Linked DNA regions of Homo sapiens: region 1 is linked to region 2. The links are contacts of gene promoters, found by promoter capture Hi-C in blood cells and fetal thymus (Javierre and others, 2016). All regions are on one chromosome and are shown on one strand. Each heading gives the region's core, a stretch centred on a gene start or on the middle of the fragment in contact. The rest is flanking DNA. Distances are from core to core; before and after follow the strand shown. Region 1 overlaps HOMER2 (homer scaffold protein 2). Region 2 holds the start of AP3B2 (adaptor related protein complex 3 subunit beta 2).

Region 1 (3,578 bases), core at 284-2,783, 210 kb after region 2:
CCTCAACCCAACAACTCCACTTCTTGGAATCTATTCAAAAGTGATAAATAAGGATATACAAAGATACTTATGCCAAAGGATAGTCACTGAAGAGCTGCTTATTAAAAACAAAAACAAACAAACAAAAATAAACCTGTAAATAAACTAAATGCCCCAAAGTTGAGGATTGGTTAAATTAAGTATGATATATCCGTGCGAAAAGTACCACTTGGCCTTTCAAAATTATAAGTAAATATTTGCTCACATGGAAAGATGGTCTTCTTTTCTTTATGTATTCTGATTGATTCTATACTTCACTGTTACAAAATAAAGAGACCACCCAGTGTTGCTGAGTCCCAGCCTAGCTACAACTTTCTGTCCCCTTCCCTACCAAATAGAATTAGCCAGACCTTGAAGGACTTGAGTGTCACTTGAAACTTCTTGCCTCAGAGGAAACAAAATAATGGGGGGAAACAAAGAATTCATGGGTTCCAGAATTCCAAAAATATTCAGCCAACACTCGGAGCGTGGAGTGAAAAGAGCGAGTTGCTAAACAGCACCATCCTCTGCTCCCATTCTTATAAATATGTGTACAAATATATATTAACTTAACAAATATTTAATCCACAACTATAAAGGAGAGCTGTGCTGGGTGCCAAGAATATCCCAGGAAACAAGACAGCCATGGCCTCAGAATCCAGGGAGATTGGTACCTGTCTGTCTGAGCACCTGTGTGTACATGGGATGAGGTACAAAACAGTGACCCTAAAGCAAGGGTCTTCCGACAGGATTGAGAATAGGTCTATTGCATGCATGTGACGTGAGGACAGCCTTGCTGCAATGAGAAGTCTTATCCAGGCAAGAGAGAGGCCAGTGTCTCTTGCTTCCCAATCTAAAGGTCAAGTGCAGACCCCGCTGGACCAAACAGAACAGGTGTGAGGGTGCTCCAAACACCAGGGTCGGCAGAGGGGGAGAGGTTAAGTACTCTCAAGAGCTTTAGATGGCAAAGGGACAAAGATGACACAAGCTGGATGGGGACTTGGCACTAAGAGAGCTGAGCCCTGAGTTGCCAGCTGCTTGGCCCAAAGTATGGGCTGCTCTGGAAAGAGCCAGAGCCCTCATTTTTTTTTTTTTGAGACAGAGTCTCACTCTGTTGCCAGACTGGAGTGCAATGGCGCGATCTCGGGTTACTGCAACCTCCACCCCCTGGGTTCAAGTGATTATCCTGCCTCAACCTCCCGAGTAGCTGGGATTACAGGCGCACGCCACAATGTCCAGCTAATTTTTGTATTTTTAGTAGAGACGGGGTTTCACCATGTTGGCCAGGATGGCCTCGATCTCTTGACCTTGTGATTCGCCTGCCTCGGCCTCTCAAAGTGCTGGGATTACAGGTGTGAGCCACCGTGCCCGGCCCAGAGCCCTCATTTTACAATTTTTGTTTTTTTCTAACTCACAGTTAACCCACTGAACAAGAAGTACCCATTTCTGATTTGCATTTTCCCTATAAATCCCATTATTGAAAGAGTTTGCCCTTCTAGGCAGAATTTATGAAAAAGTAATTTATTTCCTCATTTCTTCATTGCTCTAAGAAGTCACATATAACCGCCAAACGGTTTTCTAATCTGCAGGATATCACCAAGGTGGCCTCAAGAATTGATAGGATCCCAGCCACAAGTGAAGGTATGTTACCAGCTAGAGCAGGCTGAGAGCAGAACAGCTGCCCTTTATCTTGGGGAAATAGCACAGGCACCTGTCCCTCCTCTCCCAGGGCCCCAGGGGGAACTGCTGGAACAGCCCTTTCCTTCGCACCCAAGGACATGGCACATGATACCAAAGACACATGCAGGAAGGTGCAAGCGGGGAAGATCCGCCCCCGTGGGGACAGCAGCAAACCCCAGTGTATGTGAGAGGGAGAAGTTACGTGTTTAGAATATTATGAGATTGAGGCATTTAAGGGAAGTCTTCAAGGAAGGAAAACTAGTTAAGAAGAATAAACCCATTGTTCTACAGCCATGGTGAGCTTGCTGTAAACACTTGGAAACAGTGTGCCTCCCACCAGCCTTTCATATGCTGCAGGCCTATGCACACAGTAGGCCCAAAATACTTGCTAAACTAGATTATTTGGCTTTAAAATTATATCACATGTGCCCAGCAAGGCAAAACTCATCTCTATTATTTCCCACAATGTCAAGGGCAAAAGTGAAATCAACCTCATCTGGTCTAAGACAGGTGTGGGGGCCCCAAATCCTTATAGTTTAGGGGCGAGACTGCTGCTGAGACTAGAGCCCTGCAGGACTGGGTCAGCCTGCTCCTCAGCTGGACCATCTACTCCGAGGAGCAGCTCGGAGCAGGATCATGGAGAACACCTGGGCAGCAAATGGCCCAGAGCTAACTAGGGACTAAAAGCAGGCAGCATTGCCCGAGCCGCATTACACACTCATCAAAGTCCCAGTGTCTACTCTCATAAGAATCCTTCAAAAATCTAACGCTTGACCCTAGGGACACAGAGATATATAGACGCCATCCCTCCCGGACAGCACTCACTGGCAGTGACTCAGGATGAGTACTGGGTGCAGAAACTCCAGCACCTGAGGGTACAGATACTCAGGCCACGGTGCTCTGGGGTTCAGGTGTCACAGCCAGAGGTCTTTGCCAGGGATCCTCTAGAGCAGGCAGATGCTATTCTCAGGACAGTGTGATCATGTTGGGACAGTGCCCACGGGACAGGATACCACAGTGCTCAGATTTCTCTCCTACCAGGGCCTCATTTCCGTGTCCTACTTGAGTATCAGGCCCCACCTCAGCAGGTGAGGCTGGGTGGTCTGGTGGGGGCTCATTCCCTTAGTTCTTCTCCATGGGGTTTCCCCTCCACACTCACCTCCACAGCTTTGAGGACATGTCTATGTGATGACACCTGAATGTGTACCTCCAGCCCAGGTGTCTCTCCTGAACCCCATGCTTGCACCTTACCTCCCTGCTGCTGTTCTCCCTGCACCCCTATTTCAGTGACTCACACCACTGGATCTGTCACTATGGCAGAAACCTGGGAATCTCACACCCAGCACACAGCAGGAACATCTCCCTCGCTGTCCTCTCCTCAGCAGCCCAGGCTGTCAGCCTCCTACCTAGTAGTGTCCTCCAATGGGCCACAGGTGTGTTGAACTCGGCCCCGTAAATGGCTGTGCAGGGCACAACTCTGAGTGTCAATCATGAAAGACACGCAGACTCATTACATCAACTGCCTGGCAGATCACAGATTTCCAGAAGGTGTCTTAAAGAAGCGTTTTTTTCTAATTTGTACAAAGATGTCACTTGTCCTGGGAAGAAGTAGCCTGCTGAGAAGGGGATCTCAACCCTCAGGGTGCAGAGCAGGGCCTGGGCCACAGGAGTCCCAGGGCTGGGCACTGTTTTGTCCATTTGCCTAGGTGCTGTAAACATATTTTCCATGTGTCCGTGACACTAAAAAGATTGGGAAACACTGACCTAGATTACACCAATAGCCCCTCTGTGCTTCTGGATCTCTTCTGTTGGCAAAAACAAGCTCAGGTCTCTCCCATTTATACCAGACATGTAAGTTAACATGCCTGCTCTACCCAACA
Region 2 (3,477 bases), core at 713-3,212:
AAGGCTATGGAGAAGCAGTATCTCTCCATACCACCCCCCGCCAAAATGTTTGCTGCCCCAACACTTCAACACTATTTTATGTTATTTTTCTTATTAATAAAAGAAGACAGGAATGTCAGGCCTCTGAGCCCAAGCTAAGCCATGATATCCCCTGTGACCTGCACGTATACATCCAGATGGCCTGAAGTAACTGAAGAGTGAAAATGGCCTGTGCCTGCCTTAACTGATGACATTATCTTGTGAAATTCCTTCTCCTGGCTCATCCTGGCTCAAAAGCTCCCCCACTGAGCACCTTGTGTCCCCCCACCGCCAGAGAACAACCCCCTTTGACTGTAATTTTCCACTACCTACCCAAATCCTGTAAAACGGTCCCACCCCATTTCCCTTCGCTGACTCTTTTTTCGGACTCAGCTGGCCTGCACCCAAGTGATTAAAAAGCTTTATTGTTCAAAGCCTGTTTGGTGGTCTCTTCACATGGACGTGCGTGAAAATCCTCATCTTCTCCCCCTGTCCCTCTAAACCCCCACCCAATATCCAATTAATCATCAGGTCTGAGGCTTCCACCTCTTCCACAGCCTCAAATCTTCTGCCTCTCCCCTGGTCTAGGCCACAATCATGCCAGGCCTGTGAACTTCAAGACCCACCTCCCTTGTCTCTTGTTCAATCTGGCCCACCTCCAATCTCTTCTCCACAATGCAGCAGCCTGACGTCCTTCTAAAATATAAATCTGATTATGTCGCCTGCTTAGAATCCTTCAGGAGTCCTCCCCACCCTCTTTTCTGGTCAGTCCAGTGGCTCACACAGATTGTGGCCTGGCTCTCAACCTTCCTGAAAGCCCTTTCCTCTGCCTGGAACATACCTCACGCTCCTGTCTTCCTTCTCTCCGGCGCCAGAGACTAGGTCCTCTCCCTGCTCCCACTGCCCCCATTACACTCGACTGTCCCTGACTGCTTCTTCATCTGTGCTCCCCTCTAGAGCATCGTGAGGACAAGAAGGGTCTCATGTTCACAGTTGTATTCCGTGACTAGTTCAGGACTCGACACAGTTGGCTTTTCATAAATGCTTGTTGCAGAATTTACGAATAAACAAATGAAGAAACAAACGAACGAATCAAAGGTGGGGGAGGGTGTGAAGGTGGAGCTGAACTACAGGGGCAATGCCAGGAGCAGGGATGTGAGGGTCAGATGGAGATGGGGACCAGAGGGAGGGGAAATGAATTTGCAGCAGGGCCAAGCTGGGAGGCTGTGCAAGTACATCCAGGGCCCGCCTTCCTGAAGAGGCCCCAGGCTCAAGCTCAAGTTCGCTGACTCAGACCCCTCCCCCACATTTTTGGGAAGCCAACCCGCCTAGCACGAAAAAGGAAGGGAACCCCTAACGCAACGCCGCAAACCGGAGAAACACCTGGAACCGGAGGGTTTCTCCTCTCGAAACTGAGCTGGCCCATCCCCCGCCAGCCCCTATCTGCCCCCCTCCGCGTCCTAGGCCGGCCCCTGGAGCCGGGGTGCCAGCGCTGCCCGCGCTGGGCCGGGGCTCCAGGCCGCAGGAGGGGGCCGGGCGGGCTTCCGGTCGGCGCGGCCGGGGCGGGGCCGGCGCTGGGGCCGGGCGCTGTCCATGGTGCCCGCGCGCCTCGCCCGGTCCCCGGCCCCAACCCTCCCGCGAGCTTCCTGGCGGGCTCCCTCACCGCTTGTAGTCGGAGGAGAAGATGCCGCCGCTCGCGGGGTCGTGGCCGTACTCGGGCTCCCCGGGGCCAGCGGAGCCGCCCTTGTCTTCGCTGTAGGCGGGGGCGGCCGACATGGGGCGGCCAGGGAGACTTCGCCGAGGAGGAGGTTGCGGGGCCGGAGGCCGGCTGGAGCGGAGGAAGGGAAGGCGGGCCGGTCCGGTCCGGGCTGGCGAAGGCGGCGGCGCGGCAGGGGTTCAGCAGAGGCTGCAGTGTGCAGCGGCGGAGGCTGCGCGCGGATTTCTCAATCAGGGCCGCGCGCTGAGGTCTTAAAGGCACCGGCGCCAGCCGAGCGGAGGGCGTGTCCGCGAGGAGGCGACAGGGGCGGTGCGTCAGGGCCTGGCCCCGCCCATCCCTAGGAAATGCCCTCTTCAGGGCGTCTTCTGCCCTTTAAAGCGACTTGGCTCGTCTCCAGATCTAAAGGTGGGCGAGTCTGCTGGACGGACGCTGGGACCGTCTTGCAGGGGATGTGGAATAGCTGCCCCCACCCCCGACCACCTGGCCTCGGCGGGACGGGCCTCTGGGGCTCCGCTCTCCCCAGACGCACGCGCGGATGCTCACCCACGCCGTGGAGGGAAAGCGGGAACTGGAAAGAAGGCTGTGCCCGCAGGCTGGGGGTTCTAGAGCGGGAAGGGGTCACCGCACCCGAGGACCGGCCTCAGATACCTAAGGACGCTCCCTTTCCCGCCCCACCTTTCCTACAAAATCTGGCTTGGCAGCAGGAAGCCGAGGAGCTTCCTGGAGGTGGCGGAATTTAAGGAATTAAGGTCAGGGAGCTCCGAGGAGCCCTTGGGGGCTTAGAGAGATGGGAAACAGGATACAGAGGACGGTGAACATCTAATTAAGCTTTGGAAAGTAGTTTAATGAATCTTTCTGAAGCCTCCACGTCCACCCAGGAGGGCCAAGGTCATGCTTAATCCGGGGACACGTCCACGTCCATTGACACCTGAAAAGGAAGAGAAGGGTCTGGTGTGACCACCAGGGCTCCTGAGTCATGTGAGCCCTCCAGTTCAGCTCCCGAGCCCGAGTGACCCCTAGGCCCAAGGAAGGAAGGCTTGGATCCGATGGAAAGTAGTGAATTGGGCTGGGGGAAGAGGTAGGATCCAGTTGGGCATCAGTTGAGGTGGCTGGAGTCTTTTAGCTGGGCATGGGGACTGGAGGAGTTCCTAAGGCCTGAGTCTTGGTCTGTAACTAGCATCCCGAAGTCTCCATGGGCAGAATTGGCGGGCCTACCTGGGAAGGAGTGGGGCCCAGAAAGGTGGAGCTTGGCTCAGTAGAAAAGTTCTATTGGGGGTAATTCTACTGGGGTAAGGTTCTATTGGGGTAATGAGAAGGTTCTGTTGGGATAACCTAGACAAGTGGGTGGGTCCGCTTGGTTCCGGTGGCTTTGTGCCTGCCAGAGAAAAGTGGATCTTGAATTTGGAGAAAACTGGCCTGGGTGGGGAGTGGGAAGAGAAGGGCCTGGATTTTGCAGTTGCGCGTTTATAAGGCGCTTTGGCTAGTCTGCTCAGGAGGTGGGATGGGTCCTGTGCAGGTAGCTGGGCCACGCTCACCGACCTGCTGGAGCTCCCGTCTATTTGCCGGGGGTCCAGGCTGGGACCTGGGACGAGCAGACACAGTGCAAAGTGCACACAGTTGCTGCGCATGGAGTGATAGGATGGTGGGTCCGCGTCCGTCGCTTCGCTCACTCTGCGCAGCACGCGCCAGCAGGAGCGCAGCAGCGGGCGCTGCCCCTGTTTGGATACGATGCCTTTCCAGGA

What was found. The method cuts DNA at HindIII sites, captures the fragments that hold promoters and counts their contacts. A CHiCAGO score of 5 or more calls a contact.
Region 1: a fragment that was not itself captured here is called in contact with the fragment with the promoter of AP3B2 in region 2 in 2 of 17 cell types (non-activated CD4 T cells and naive CD4 T cells); the score reaches 5.2 in non-activated CD4 T cells.

The regions. Positions count from the first base shown.
Region 1 is chr15:82,915,708-82,919,285 of GRCh38, forward strand. All of the region lies in intron 1 of HOMER2 (homer scaffold protein 2), which reads right to left. LOC105370928 (a long non-coding RNA gene) reads left to right here. Exons shown (of 5, transcript XR_007064741.1): 3 at 1,608-1,659. Among named protein-coding and RNA genes, the nearest start is that of HOMER2, 35 kb to the right of the region's middle. The HindIII fragment of the contact is 5,158 bases long and covers 1-3,578 here.
Region 2 is chr15:82,707,913-82,711,389 of GRCh38, forward strand. AP3B2 (adaptor related protein complex 3 subunit beta 2) reads right to left here and starts at 1,963. Exons shown (of 27, transcript NM_001278512.2): 1 at 1,682-1,963. The coding sequence starts at 1,794. It also overlaps the pseudogene LOC338963. RefSeq lists silencers at 1,487-1,746, 1,967-2,016. The HindIII fragment of the contact is 2,125 bases long and covers 437-2,561 here.